Linked DNA regions of Homo sapiens: region 2 is linked to region 1. Evidence: promoter capture Hi-C in 16 types of primary human blood cells and fetal thymus (Javierre and others, 2016). All regions are on one chromosome and are shown on one strand. Each heading gives the region's core, a stretch centred on a gene start or on the middle of the fragment in contact. The rest is flanking DNA. Distances are from core to core; before and after follow the strand shown.

Region 1 (7,257 bases), core at 2,264-4,763:
AAATGGCGGTAAGAGGTCTTAGTTCTGGGTTAGGTCTCTCTCTGCATCAGGCACATACTGGAGGCAGCACACTAGAAAAGATTATTTGCAGCTACAGAAAACTGAGTTCAAATCTCAACTCTGCAATATAGTGGATCTGCACCTGTGGGAAATTACTTGACCTCTCTGGTTTTTTTTTTCCTACTGGGAAATGGGGCTACTATTATCCCACTATTGCGAGCACTGAAAAGATAGTGTTCACAGATGCTTGTTAATAGTTTTCTGCTCTTCCATCACCTTGTTGGTGAAACAGCATTGACAGCTTCTAGTGGGTAAGGACATCCAAGACAGATTCAGCACACACAGATTTGGGGGCTTGGTTCAGGGCAGGCACACAATCAGCTCTTAGTGAACTAACAAATGAACAGCTATATACCCAACCCTGACTACTCCCTCTCATGTACTACTCAGATGCTGAAGTGAGAATATACAGATTATTAATAAAAACCAATTATTTTAGACATTCACTTACAATATCATCTAGCTGCAGACAGACAGGATCTTCATCTCTCCCAAACCTGAGAACCAACACCTTCTCAGCAGTACTTTTTATCGCCTGGTCTACTTCCTTTTTGCTAGTCAGCTTGGGCAGTAGGAAGCTCATCTTGAAATAACCCAAATGTGAATCCTCACTGTCACTCCTGAAATAAAGGTGCAATGTTTAAAGACAGTTTAGATTAAGTGCGTGAGCCCTCATTAAAAAAAATTAATTCACAGAGTAGCTAATGTATTCACATGGTATGAAAGAAACATCATAGAAAGGTAACACTGTGGAGTTTCCCTCTCTTTGTCCCTGCTCCTTGGAACCAGTTTTCATTGTTCCCTCCCCCGGGCCAGATAACTGCTTTCATTAGTTTCTCATGTATCTTTCAGAGTTTTGTTATGCATTCACCAAAAAATACAAATATGCGTTCCGATATTTTTTTTCTCTCTCTCCCCACCCCCAAAAGATAGCCTATTGTATCAGTGTTCCAGCAGGAAAGCGATGACACTCTCAACTTTGGTAATTTGAAGGCAGTTTAATTAAGGCAGGTGTAGAAAAACAATACGGTAAAGTGTACTACTTTGGGGCTAGTAACAGCGGGATGCTGTACCCATCCCTAGGCCATGGGAGGAAGAAGCCACGGTAGGAAGCAGTTATAAGAATTGTGTGGCAGAAAGAGGTGAGTGGAGAGGACAGTGTATAGGAGGGCAGCCTGCTGTTAGGTGTTGCAGCCACTCTCCTCCCTCCCTCTGACCTTTGCTCATGCAACCACCGGCTGACTCCAACTGGAACCAGAGGGCAGGGGCCTGTTGAGGCAGGCAAACCTCCCTGTCCCAGAGCAGTCTAGAGGAGGATGAAGAATGGCTGTGGAGGGACCAATGGCAGATGTTCAGCACACACACTTTATCTACTCTTCAGCACTTTTCATTATTTCAAACCTAACCTATGAAGATTGCCCCATATCTCTATATAGAGAACATCCATATTCTCTGTCATGGCAGCATATTATTTCTTGCATGTGTTACACTTTTTAAACAGTCCTTTATTGTATACTTTATATTATTACAAGTCCTGGCTTAAAGATTCTTCGTGTGCACCTTACTAGGTGCACCTCATTACACGGCAAACAGATCAATTAAGAGTGTGTGTGAAAACTACAATACCATAAACAAATAATAAAATACTGAGGTACAAGGGACCTAATACAACCCCGTCATTTTACAAACTAGCTTGCTTACAGTTGCACTTTCTACTACAATGACAAGGACTAGAATACAGGCCACCAAATTTCTAGTCCAGGGGTCCTTCTACTACAATAATCTATTTTCATGATTGGTAGAAATTTCATTTTTGAGAAACTCTTTGACAAAGAAGCTTAGTTTTGTGGTCATCTATAAGAGACTCCATTGAGATGGTCGGTATTTTGAATTCAGTTCCAAATATGAAAAGGGAGGATTTCTTTTCCTATTTTTTTTGTCACAAGTCACATTTTAAGATACGAATTAGGCCAGGCTCACCCCTGTAATCCCAGCACTTTGGGAGGCCAAGGAGGGTGGATCACCTATGGCCAGGAATTCGAGACCAGCCTGGCCAACATGGTGAAACCCCGTCTCTACTAAAAATACAAAAAATTAGCCGGGCGTGGTGGCAGATGCCACCTGTAATCCAAGCTACTCAGGAGGCTGAGGCAGGAGAATTGCTTGAACCCTGGAGGCGGAGGTTGCAGTGAGCTAGGATCGCTCCACTGCACTCCAGCCTGGGCAAGGCAACAAGAGCGAAGCTCCGTCTCCAAAAAAAAAAAAAGGAATTATTTAACTAAAATTCACATAGGAAATAAGATTGTTCCAGCTATAGGTCATACTTTAAACAGGGACATTGATGGCCCAAAGGGACGTCATCAGATGTGAGCAGCAGAACAAATTACCAATGAAAGGGAAGGTCAAAGAGAAGACGGATCTGTCCCACTAGAATTCAAACAAACAGCAGTTCCTCCGTGTTACTGATCGAAAGGAGAAAGTAAGGGGAGAACAAAGTTGTTAGTGGTGAGGCTAGGGGTGCAACTGGACAAACGTTGGAAGCAGGAGAGGAAAACTGAGACCACATCTAAGAAAATGTCCATAGTAAATGATACCCACAGAGAATTCCCAAAAGAAGACGTACAAATGGACAGTAAATAAACTAAAAAGTTAAGCTTTACCAGTAAGCAAAGAAAAGCAAATTAAAACATATGTTTACAAAGTCACTGAATTGGCAAAAATTAAACAAGATAGTGGTAGGGGCAGGCACAGGGAGTTCCTGCTGGAATGCAGACACAAAACCTTTCTGGAAAGAAAACTGACATACTCTTTGACCAATAACTCCACTGCTTTCCTCTCTCCCTCTCTTTTTCTGAGGCGGGGTTTCGCTATGTTGCCCAGGCTGGTCTCAACTCCCCAGGCTCAAGCAATCCTCCCGCCTCAGCCTCCCGAGTAGCTGGAACCTCAGGCGCGCGCCACAACTGCAGAAACACCAAAAAAAGAAAAAAAGCTTGAACTCACTTTTGTACAGAATCTTACTACAATGTATTCCAGAAAAACAACTGGAAATCAGTGGTCATCTCTGCGTGTGAACGCATGGGTGATTTTTATTTACAGCCGGGCGCGCATCTCCATTTTCCAAAATATCCGATATACATATTTAAAGTCACCTGTGTTGCGCTGCTCCTGGCCCACAAGCGCTAAGGGACCCCAGCACTTACCTTACTCGTCCACGCCGCCTCACTCCCTTTCACTTTGTGGCTGTCAGCAACCACTTCTCGGAAGAGCCCGGGCGCGGACAGCTCCTTTCATCAGCCCCAAGCCGGACAGGACCCTAAGACCAAGTCACCCAGGGGCTGTTGCCTAGCAACCCTCGTGGCCCCGCTAGCGGGAAGGAAACCGAACAGAAAACGCACAAGCGCAGAAAAGAAACTCCTGGCCGTCGGTCGGCCCCCGCTCAACAGCCCAATAAACGGAAGAGCTTCTAGTCACCGCCCACCTTGCTCGGCTCTGACCGGAAGCTAGGCGTCACCTCCGCCCGTATTAAAGATGGTCGACCTTTTTCCCCTCCTTTTCCTGCCCCCAGACTAGAGGCGGGATGTAGTCTCTTAGGCTAAGAGTGATTGGTCACAAGGAGACTCGGAAGTGTCTGATCAGAGCCCCAGAGGAGGCCTTGAGAGCCTGTTGGCGTACCGTTCCACACTTGGATCCAGGAATCGGGCGTGTTCCAGGCTGCTCTCTATGGTAGCTTTGGGCGGATAGAGGGGGCGCGCAAAGTATTAAGGGACAATAATGGCCGCTTTCAAGGTGTGGATTTTGGCTCCTTGAGCCTGTCTGAGCGAGGGGTGGCAGCGCCGGCGCCCCAGAATCCGGGACAGAAGGGTCCCAAGAGTCGCGCTTGGTGAGGTGAGAGTCCCTTCTTCCTTCCTGGCCTGCCCTTCTGTAATCATGGCGGCTCTAGGCGGCGGATATTGGTCCCCTGCTCAGGTCCGGGCCCCAGTTTGGGGAGTTCCTCTGTCGTCCCTGTCACCCACCTTGCCTTACTCACCTCAGGGATGCTGCATCCGTCCTGGCCGCCTTGGCCTTCCTCCTTGCTCTGGTCAAATCCTGCTGCCTGGAGCGGCCTCGCTGAGATCCAGGGATGCTGCCTGGAGTGGCCTTGGTCCCTCTCCCAGGCCTCCGCTTTAACCCACCCCAGACTGTCACCGAGCCCGAGTAGGACTCCTTGTGTCTTCCTCTGCTCTCTCACAGTGTCATTTATACCAGGCAATCTGGTGGGCGATCTCTTCTACTAGAATGTCAGCTCCAGGTGGGCGGGGATTTTTGTCTTGTTCTCTGTTGCTATCGCCGAGAACAGCAATTGGCTCAGGGACACCCTCAGTGAATAATTGTTGAATGAATGAATCCAGGTTCTTTCTTCCCTGGCTTTCTCGTACGCCTTGTAGTTTCTTTGCCATTAATCCTTCTCAAGAATCTTGCTCTTTAGCTCCTTATTTGTTCGTCTCAGCAGCTAATGAAGTTCTCTCTGGCTGTCTCCTTGTCCTGTGTTGCTGGAATCTTCCCTTGCTGTCTCCAGAAATGTTTGGGTTCCTGTCCTCCTTTAATAAGTTTAAATTAATTCATTTTTTAATTTATCAAACGCTTATTTTGCTAGACATTGAGCTACAGCAGTCAACAACACATCCAGTGTTCTCTCAACTGCGTAGAATGGCAGTCCAGGGTACCTTTCCTAGTTTAGACAACTATTGAGTAGAGCCTGTATATCTTTACCTTCTTGTGTGGATTTCCTCACATGCGCACAGATGTCACCAATATGCAGCTTTCTTTTTTTCTGTTCTGCCTGATGGCATTTTCAAAATGTAACTCTTGTTTCTGCATTAATATTATGTGTCCAGTCTGTTTGGCAATACTCTGTAGAGCTGTGCATTTAATTAGAGTTTGGTAAACAATTCTGGATTCTGGTGGCATCTCCTTTGCTTTGCTAACTTGTTGGAATGAGAGGAATTATCCAAGCATCCAGAACTGATATATGTTGATGAGTGGCAGATGTGTAGTGAGAGGTAAAGAGGAGCTTGTTCCAACTTGAGTGCCAGAAGTCTTGTAGCCACTTAAATACTTCTCAGTAACACCTTTTCCTAACCTGGTGTTTCTCATAAATATTTTTGGTGAACATGGATTGTTATTAAACTGATTTTGGCTGCTGTGAGTAAATTGTTTTCTGTAAAACGCAGCTAGGCCAAGAAAAGCCACTAAAGTATGGAGAACATGGACGGTAGCCTTCTGCCCCATCTCTGTGCTGCTGTACCTGTTGTTTAAAGAGAGGAAGAGGTAGAACTCATGTAAAAAAATGGGTGAGGGACCAACAGTATATAGGAGGATAGCAAATAATACAATGTAGCAGTTACATTTATGTTAACTGTTATGGTTACATAAAGAGCTACTCTTTATGGTTTCACATACACTTTTTGTTTGATTCTCACAATAGCTTCATGGATTAGATAAGGTAAAAATTTTTTCCATTTAATAGATATGAAATTATGGCTAAACAAAGATTAAGTTATTTGCTTACCATCATACAGGTAGAAAGTGTCAAGAGCCTGGTTTCTAATTGAGGTTTCTGATTCAAATTTAGTGGTGTTTTCCCTACATCCCTGTTACAGCTGCTGACATCAGGCTCTAGAAAGTGTCCCTTAGTGAGACTTTTTATTGCCTCTTGGATCTTTGTGGGGGCTGGGGAGGAATGTATGGGGTGTGTGTGTGTGTGTGTGTGTGTGTGTATCTATTTTGGTGTTTATTGGGGGTTGGAATAGGAGAATCTTTGGAGATAGGCAGTGACTTGATGGAAAGGTCTTGGAGAGAGGGAGCAAAAGTAGTCCTGGTCTTAAGGGGAGATGGGGAAGGTTAATCACCTACATATAACCATAACTGCATTTATTGTGGGATATAGTAGAGCTGAGCCTTCTCTAGTACCAAATGGTTTGCCTTCCTTCCAGAGAAATCCCAGATCCTGTGATGGGGGACACCAGTGAGGATGCCTCGATCCATCGATTGGAAGGCACTGATCTGGACTGTCAGGTTGGTGGTCTTATTTGCAAGTCCAAAAGTGCGGCCAGCGAGCAGCATGTCTTCAAGGCTCCTGCTCCCCGCCCTTCATTACTCGGACTGGACTTGCTGGCTTCCCTGAAACGGAGAGAGCGAGAGGAGAAGGACGATGGGGAGGACAAGAAGAAGTCCAAAGTCTCCTCCTACAAGGACTGGGAAGAGAGCAAGGATGACCAGAAGGATGCTGAGGAAGAGGGCGGTGACCAGGCTGGCCAAAATATCCGGAAAGACAGGTAAAGGCCTTAGTATGGGTTAGCCCAGAGGGAAGCGAACGGAGGCTGGAAAATAACAGCTCATGTTTATCTCTCAGTTTTCCTGTTGGAGATTTAGAGCTTTATGATTTTATTATGATTCTGTAATACTGAAGGTAGGTAGGAATTTGTGGGGAAAAACAAAGGTGAATAAAGACGAGATGGTAGAGGTTAGAAATGCCTTGGGTTGTTGCCATATGTGAGCCTGCGTCCCAGGGAGAGAAAGTGGAAAAGGACAGATCACTTGTTTGGACAGCCAAAGGTTTTAGGGCAGAGTTTTTCTCCTATGGAGGGGCCTTTACCAGTTGCTCTCCCTGTTTCAGACATTATCGGTCTGCTCGGGTAGAGACTCCATCCCATCCGGGTGGTGTGAGCGAAGAGTTTTGGGAACGCAGTCGGCAGAGAGAGCGGGAGCGGCGGGAACATGGTGTCTATGCCTCGTCCAAAGAAGAAAAGGATTGGAAGAAGGAGAAATCGCGGGATCGAGACTATGACCGCAAGAGGGACAGAGGTAAACTGTCCAGCACAGTTCCTATTGTCCATTAGCATTCGAATAAATGTGTCAGCCTTTTTCTTGTTGCAGGAGTTTTTGCAACACCCATTTGTTAGGGAGTCCTATTTGCATGATGTCCGCCTGAGTGGTTTTGACCCTGCTGGGATTGGGAATACTAGTTTAAGAAAAGAGCTGTTGCCTGTAACATAGCTGCTCTCCTTGAGTGTGTGGTCTTCGTTTTATTATGAAAATTGATGATAAAGGAGATAATGGGTAAATATGTATAAGAGACCAGCATTTCTAATAGTATTGGTGATAGAGAAAGGACAGTGCTATGGAACAAAGCTAGACAAAAAAATCCAATGCTGTCCT
Region 2 (7,257 bases), core at 2,794-5,293, 5.1 Mb after region 1:
TCTTTGTCCTCGCAGATGCTGGAGCAGCGACTGGCCCGGGAGATCCGTGCCCTGGAGAGAAGCAAGGAGCAGCTGCTCTCGGAGAGTGAGCCTCCCGCGCCAGGTGGGCGGGGGGAGGGGGATGTGCCCGGGCCTCGGCCCTGCCCCTGACGCCCGCCCACCGACAGGGAGGCTGGTGCGCGCCAAGCTGCGGGAGGTGGAGCGGCGGCTGCACTCGCCGCCTGAGGTCGAGGGCGCCATGGCGGTGAATGACGGGTGAGAGGGGAAGGGAGGAGTGGGCGAGGAGGGCAGGGGCAGGGCGGAGGGGAACCCGCCCAGGTCCCCCGCTCCGCCCCCGACTGCCGCTTCCCCGGCCTGTGCCTCCCTCGGCGTCGTCGGGTCTCCGCGTCTCGGTGGCTTCCTCCTCGTCCCCTGGACTCTCGCTCTCTTCCTCCTGTCTCCTCGGCCCCTTCTCCGCAGGCTGAAGGCGGAGCTGGAGATATTCGGGGAGCAGGTCCGGAGCGCCCCCGAGGTCGGGGCCGGCGAGGGAGAGGTAGGGAGCCCGAGGAAGGGAGGCGGGGCGGGCAGGGACCGAGTCAGGAGAGAGCGGGCGGGGGTCCTGGGAGCGGCCCCCGAGAGTGGGGTCTGTGGGGAGCAGGGCGGCCCCGGGGACAGAGGAAGCCGCGGTGGAGGCCTAGGGCAGACGCGGGCGGACGCGAGGAGCGTAGGAACCTGGTCCGCAGCCTCACCCAGCCCCCGGCAGGCCGGACCTGAGCTCCCCCGCGCTCGCGACGAGGAGGATCCCGAGCCGCCGGTGGCTGCCCCTGACGCCCTCTAGGCCAGCAGGACCCGCCCGTTCCCGACCTTCCCTCGAGACCCGCCAAGAAATAAAGGCGATGATTTCCGACCATGCTCGCGTTCTCCGCGGAGTCTGTGCTACACCGTGGAGCGGGGCGGGGCGTGCTGGGATCTCGAGGCGGGGCCTCTGCCGGACCCCTCCCACCAGTCGAGCCCCGGGCGCCGTACAGAGGCTGGGTAAATGCTCCTGAACTCAGAGAGAGTAAGTGGGTGTCAGTATCCCCCGCCCCACGGCCTCATCTCGAGTTCCCAAACCATCTATGTTGTCAACAGGGGCCGGAGGGCAGGTGTTAACCCATTCCGGTCCTCGGGGCCTGTGCGTCTCCGGTGGTCTCAGGAAACCCAGAGTCTCTGCAAGACCCGCAGACTCGCGCTGGCTCTGGGACATGCCCGCCCATCTGAGCTCCCCTCACAAATTGGGTTCTAGCCAAGGCTGCCTCTCCACCCGTCTCAAACATTCCAAAACACGTGTCCCCTCGGGGCCTTCGCCCTACTGGTCCTTCTCTGGGGTCACATCCCCCAGGCAACCTCAGATCTGTTAAATGTGTCCGCCACTCTGGAGGCCGGCATTTGGGACCCAAATCCAAAGGCACCCAGCAGCAGGCTGCGGCCATTGACTGAGCATGTACTGACTAAGCAGGCATTTGCCGATTGCCTGCTGGGTACCAGGCACTGTTCTAAGCACTGGATTTTAAACAGCGCGGTCAGCGACGGCCTCACCTAGGAAGTGGTATCTGAGCGGAGAAGCGAGGTAGAGAAGCGAGGGGGTGAGCCCTGTGGGTGTCTGGGGAAAGGTGGGCCTGGCAGAAGACATGCCTCATGCCAAGGCGGGAGGTGAGGCTGCACTTCGCTGTGTTTGAGGAGACGTCTGGAGAAGGCCGGCGTGGTAGAGTGGAATGAGGTAGAGTGGGATGGGAGACGACACTGGAGAGTTGCCAAGGACCAGTCAAGTTGGACACTATCTAATGTGTGTAGAAGAGGACCTGGCACACAGTCAGTATTCAGTGAATGCCAGCTCTCACATATTGTTGGGATGATTCACTATTCCCAGTCCCTAGAGAATGGGAACTGAGATGTGTGACTCACTTAGATCAGAGGCTTCTGTCCATTAAGTGATCAGTAAGTGGTTCATATGATTTATTATTATTATTCCCAGGCTACAGATGAGGAACACTAAGGTGTGTATATCTCTCAGAACAGAGATTTTTATAACATAAATGCTCAATAAATGGTATCTATCATTTATTATTCTCACTGCTATTCTTGCTGTTATTCCCAATTTAGCGATGAGGAAAATTGAGATAGTGAATCTGTACAGTAAGCCCTCAATAAACGTTGGGTCTCACGTTTGTTGCCATTATTATCCCAAGTCCACAGATGAGGCCCAGGGAGCTTTAGTCCCCGAGTCACCACTCGCATCCGGGCAGAGCTGACTCCAGGCCCAGGCTGTGGTCCCCTGCCCCACTGACACCACCTACTTGCTAAGGCCAGTCTCCAGGAATCTCTAAGGAACTTCAGTATCCTCTTTGTCATCCTCTCTGTGTCACACAAATGGGGTCAGCCTGGATATTCTGCCGATTTACCACTGGGCACCTAGGATTCGAGTCCTGGTTTCCCTGTTCACCAGCTGGATGACCTCAGGCAAATTGCTTAATGTCTCTAAAACGCAGTGACCAGCTGGGTGCTGTGGCTCACGCCTGTAATCCCAGCACTCTGGGAGGCTGAGGCGGGTGGATCACGAGGTCAGGAGTTCAAGACCAGCCTTGCCAAGATGGTGACACCCCTTGGTTTGGTGGTGGCAGGTGTCTGGAATCCTAGCTACTCAGGAGGCTGTGGCAGAGAATTGCTTGAACCCGGAAGGCGGAGGTTGCAGTGAGCCAAGATGGCGCCACTACACTCCAGCCTGGGCGACAGAGCGAGACTTTGGCTTTTGATTTGCCCTGTGTTCTCCTGACTCAACTGACCTTCCTGGCAGGGCTACTTCTCCTTTCATTGAAATAATTGACAGCTGCCTGGGAAGTCTTCACTCACTTCCTGTAACAGCTTTTCTCAGGGCTTGCATTCAATTACCATAATTCTCAAGCTTCTTGGCTTGTAGTTCAGGTTCAAATGTGAATGAGCCTGGGGGAGCTCAGTGTTGCCAAAAGGCGGAAGGACATTCTTTTTATTATTATTATTATTTTTATTTATTTATTTATTTATTTTTGAGACGGAGTCTCGCTCTGTCGCCCAGGCTGGAGTGCAGTGGCGCCATCTCGGCTCACTGCAAGCTCCGGCTCCCAGGTTCACGCCATTGTCCTGCCTCAGCCTCCAGAGTAGCTGGGACTACAGGTGCCCGCTACCACACCCGGCTAATGTTTTTCTGTATTTTTAGTAGAGACGGGGTTTTACCGTGTTATCCAGGATGGTCTCGATCTCCTGCCCTCGTGATCCGCCCGCCTCGGCCTCCCAGAATGCTGGGATTACAGGCGTGAGCAACCGCACCCGGCCAGGACATTCTTGAAAAAAGTAAGCCAGAAAGAAACCCACTGAAAAACAGAGGAGTCAGAGGAGGGGCCCGAAGAGATGCAAACATAGCACATCCTGAGTAGCAAGCTAGACAAGGCATGGAAGAGAGAGTGGCCAAAGTGACTGCAGTAGAATCTCCCGGAGGATAATAATATTACTACCTAATAGAGCACACTAGTTAGCAGAACAGAACCCAGGGCCAGACTGTGTTTGTTAGAATCCCAGCTCTGCTGCATACTAGCTGTGTAACTTCAGGTTACACAGTTAGGTTACTTAAATTCCCTTTTTTTTTTTTTTTTTGAGATGGAGTTTCATTCTTGTTGCCTAGGCTGGAGTGCAATGGCGAGATCACGGCTCACTGCAACCTCCACCTCCTGAGTTCAAGGGATTCTCCTGCCTCACCCTCCCGAGTCACTGGGATTACAGGCGCCCACCTCCACACCCAGCTAATTTTCGTATTTTTAGTAGTGACGGGGTTTCACCATGTTGGCCAGGCTGGTCTCAAACTCCTGACCTCAAGTGATCCACCCGCCTTGGCCTCCCAAAGTGCTGGGATTACAGGCGTGAGCCACCCTGACTGGCCGTTCATAAAGTTTTGAGGACATGTAGCATGTTACGTTTCAGAGAATCAAAGGCATCCACCATTTCTTTTTTGATCTCTCAATTTTGTGTTCATTTAGATTTCAGACAGCAATCAAAACATCAAGTACAGGTGAATACAATCCCAGGCCACCTTTTCCTGGGAACCTGGATATTGAGCTCTTACTTTTCTCCATTCTAGGATCTTGTTAAGCAGTGATGCTAACCAGTGAGTAGAACAGTGAGAGGTCCGTGCATATTCTATTTGCTGATCTACCAGCTGTTTTAAGGGACTGGTCAGTGGCAGAATTAACATATTTGCCATACCTACAAAATTCACAAGTACCTAGACTTCATTTTCCATTTTCCTACAAAACTCAAACTCTGTTTTTGTGACCTATTACTCACCGTAATCCTACCCAGCATCTTTCTCATTGGAATCTTGAGTAACATTTACCCAAAGATTACATTAGTTCCATTCTTCTTCCTTTCATTATCAAGTCATTATTAGATGGAGATGATTTGAATAGCCTAGGTGCCTGTTTTTTGTCTTGTAGTCCTTCCTTGGTGTTAACTCTGAAATTAATTTATCTCTTTTTTTATTTTTATTTATTTATTTTTTGAGATGGACTCTCACTCTGTCGCCCAGGCTAGAGTGCAGTGGCACAATCTCGGCTCCCTGCAACCTCCACCTCCCGGGTTCAAGCGATTCTCCTGTCTCAGCCACCCAAGTAGCTGGGACTACAGGTGCCCACCAACACGCCCGGCTAATTTTTGTAGTTTTAGTAGACACAGGGTTTCACCATATTGGCCAGGCTGGTCTCAAACTCCTGACTTCAAATGATCCACCCACCTTGGCCTCCCAAAGTGCTGGGATTATAGGCGTGAGTCACCATGCCCTGCTAAAATTAATTGATTTCTTCCAAGTGTGTGCAGTCATGTTTTACTTCTGTGATCAGACCTATTTAAGAGTTATAAAGATTCCTTCCAATTGTATCTTATGAAAGCCAGTAGGCATTTAATGACCTTCTTTTCTGGAGTCATTGTCTTTATATTTTGTGCCTCATTTTTGGAAAGCCTGTTTTACTTTCCGTGTGTCTTCTTATTTCTAAAGTCTTATTAAACCTACATTATCTAAAATGCCCATTACCTATAAATTTCTCTTCCACTCTGAGATTAAATATCTTTCTCAGTGGTTACCTTTATATTTTTAGAACATTTTATTGTTTAAAAATCACAGTCAAAGCTTCAAAAAACATACACCCCAAAATATCCCAATTTCAGTATCCTACTACCCAGAGGAGAGCACATGGCTGTTCTTCCCCTTCTGGTGCCCACAGCACTAGCGAGGACCCTGCCCTGAAGAGACCACTTGCCCACCCTCCTGCCCACCATATGTTAAGTCACCGTTTCTAATACATTTATTTATTTATTTATTTATTTAGTAAGATGGAGTCTCGCTCTGTTGCCTAGGCTGGAGTACAGTGGTGCAGTCTCGGCGCACCGCAAGCCCTGCCTCCTGGGTTCAAGCAATTCTGTAGCAGCGTCCCGAGGAGCTGGGATTACAGGCACCCACCATCCCATCCAGCTAATTTTTGTATTTTTAATAGAGACGGGGTTTCACCATGTTGGCCAGGCTGGTCTCAAACTCCTGACCTCAGGTGATCCACCCACCTCAGCCTCCAAAAGTGCTGGGATTATAGGTGTGAGCCACTGCTCCCGGGCCCTAATGCTTTTATAATTTAGTTTATATTTGAACTATTTGGAATTTATTTTGTGTCTGTACATAATCTGGAGAGAATTTACTGAATAGCACATGTATCCCCCCAACTGCAATGCCATCCTCGCCATATACCAAATAATCATGTCTATTTTGGTCAATTTCTGAACTGTTTATTCTATTCCTTTATCTAGTTACCTATTTATACACAAATACCAAACTTTTTATTATTATACCCTTAAATAATATTATGAAACTCACTTGGTGAGACCTCCTCTATATTTTCCTACTGTTTCAGAATTTTTCAAGGGTAGTTTCTTTCCTATGCATACTCTAGAATCATATTGTCTATTTCCAAAAAAAAAAAAAAAACAAAAAAACAAAAAACCTGACTGGGCGCAGTGGCTCACAGCTGTAATCCCAGCACTTTGGTGGGCAGAGGCAGGCAGACTATGAGGTCAGGAAATCAAGACCATCCTGACTAACATGGTGAAACCCTGTCTCTACTAAAAATACAAAAAATTAGCTGGATGTGGTGGCACAAGCCTGTAGTCCCAGCTACTAGGGAGGCTGAGGCAGGAGAATCACTTGAACCCAGGAGGCGGAGGTTGCAGTGAGCAGAGATCACGCCACTGCACTCTAGCCTTGTGGCAGTGTGAGACTCTGTTTCAAAAAAAATTAAACAGCAGCAACAACAACAAAAAACCCCTATTATTATTTGATATTTGTATTGAATGAAATATATACATTAACATGCAGGAAATTAGTATCATTATATTGAGCCTTCTAAAGGAGAAAAGAGTCTGTTTTATCTGTTTAGTTTTTTTTTTTTTTTTTTTTGAGATAGCGTTTCACTCTTGTTGCCTAGGCTGGAGCGCAATGGTGTGATCTCAGTTGACCACAACCTCCGCCTCCCGGGTTCAAGCAATTCTCCTGCCTCAGCCTCCTGGGTAGCTGGGATTACAGGCATGCATCACCATGCCCAGCTAATTTTGTATTTTTAGAAGAGATAGGGTTTCTCCATGTTAGTCGGGCTGTTCTCCAACTCCCGACCTCAGGTGATCCGCCTGCCTTGGCCTCCCAAAGTGCGGGGATTACAGGCGTTAGTCACCGCACCTGGCCTAATTTTTATTTTATGTGTTCTTCTCCTCTGTATATCTCTTTGAATTCTATTTTACCTGATAATAATGTTGCTACAGTAATTTTTTTTTTTTGAGACTGAGTCTCACTCTGTTGCCCAGGTTGGAGTGCAGTGGCACTATCTCGGCTCACTGCAACCTCTGCCTCCTGGGTTCAAGCAATTCTCCTGCCTCAGCCTCCCGAATTGCTGGGATTACAGGCACCTGCCACCATGCCCAGCTAATTTTTTGTATTTTTAGTAGAGATGGGGTTTCACCATGTTGGCCAGGCTGGTCTTGAACTCCTGACCTCAGGTGATCCACCCACCTCAGCCTCCCAAAGTGCTGGAATTACAGGCGTGAGCCACCACGCCCGGACAATAAATGTATTTTTAGGAATATTTTTCTTCGTATGTTTCTTTACTTGACTGTCTATTTAGGTATCTAATTTTTCAGGGTTTGTTTAATAAAACTATACTGTCATTGATAATTCAT

What was found. The method cuts DNA at HindIII sites, captures the fragments that hold promoters and counts their contacts. A CHiCAGO score of 5 or more calls a contact.
Region 2: a contact is called between a fragment that was not itself captured here and the fragment with the promoter of TXNL4B in region 1, in 2 of 17 cell types (total CD8 T cells and naive CD8 T cells). The highest score is 5.5, in total CD8 T cells.

The regions. Positions count from the first base shown.
Region 1 is chr16:72,090,107-72,097,363 of GRCh38, forward strand. TXNL4B (thioredoxin like 4B) reads right to left here and starts at 3,514. Exons shown (of 4, transcript NM_017853.3): 1 at 3,261-3,514; 2 at 512-680. The coding sequence starts at 643. It overlaps DHX38 (DEAH-box helicase 38), which reads left to right and starts at 3,741. Exons shown (of 27, transcript NM_014003.4): 1 at 3,741-3,945; 2 at 6,033-6,374; 3 at 6,716-6,903. The coding sequence starts at 6,052. RefSeq lists enhancers at 3,287-3,616, 3,627-3,676, 3,737-4,036. The HindIII fragment of the contact is 4,501 bases long and covers 3,048-7,257 here.
Region 2 is chr16:77,212,115-77,219,371 of GRCh38, forward strand. It overlaps SYCE1L (synaptonemal complex central element protein 1 like), which reads left to right. Exons shown (of 11, transcript NM_001129979.3): 8 at 16-85; 9 at 168-255; 10 at 460-532; 11 at 743-1,101. The coding sequence ends at 817. LOC124903726 (a long non-coding RNA gene) reads right to left here and starts at 17. Exons shown (of 2, transcript XR_007065121.1): 1 at 1-17. RefSeq lists silencers at 17-376, 437-766, 877-966, 997-1,046 and an enhancer at 124-1,097. The HindIII fragment of the contact is 2,250 bases long and covers 2,919-5,168 here.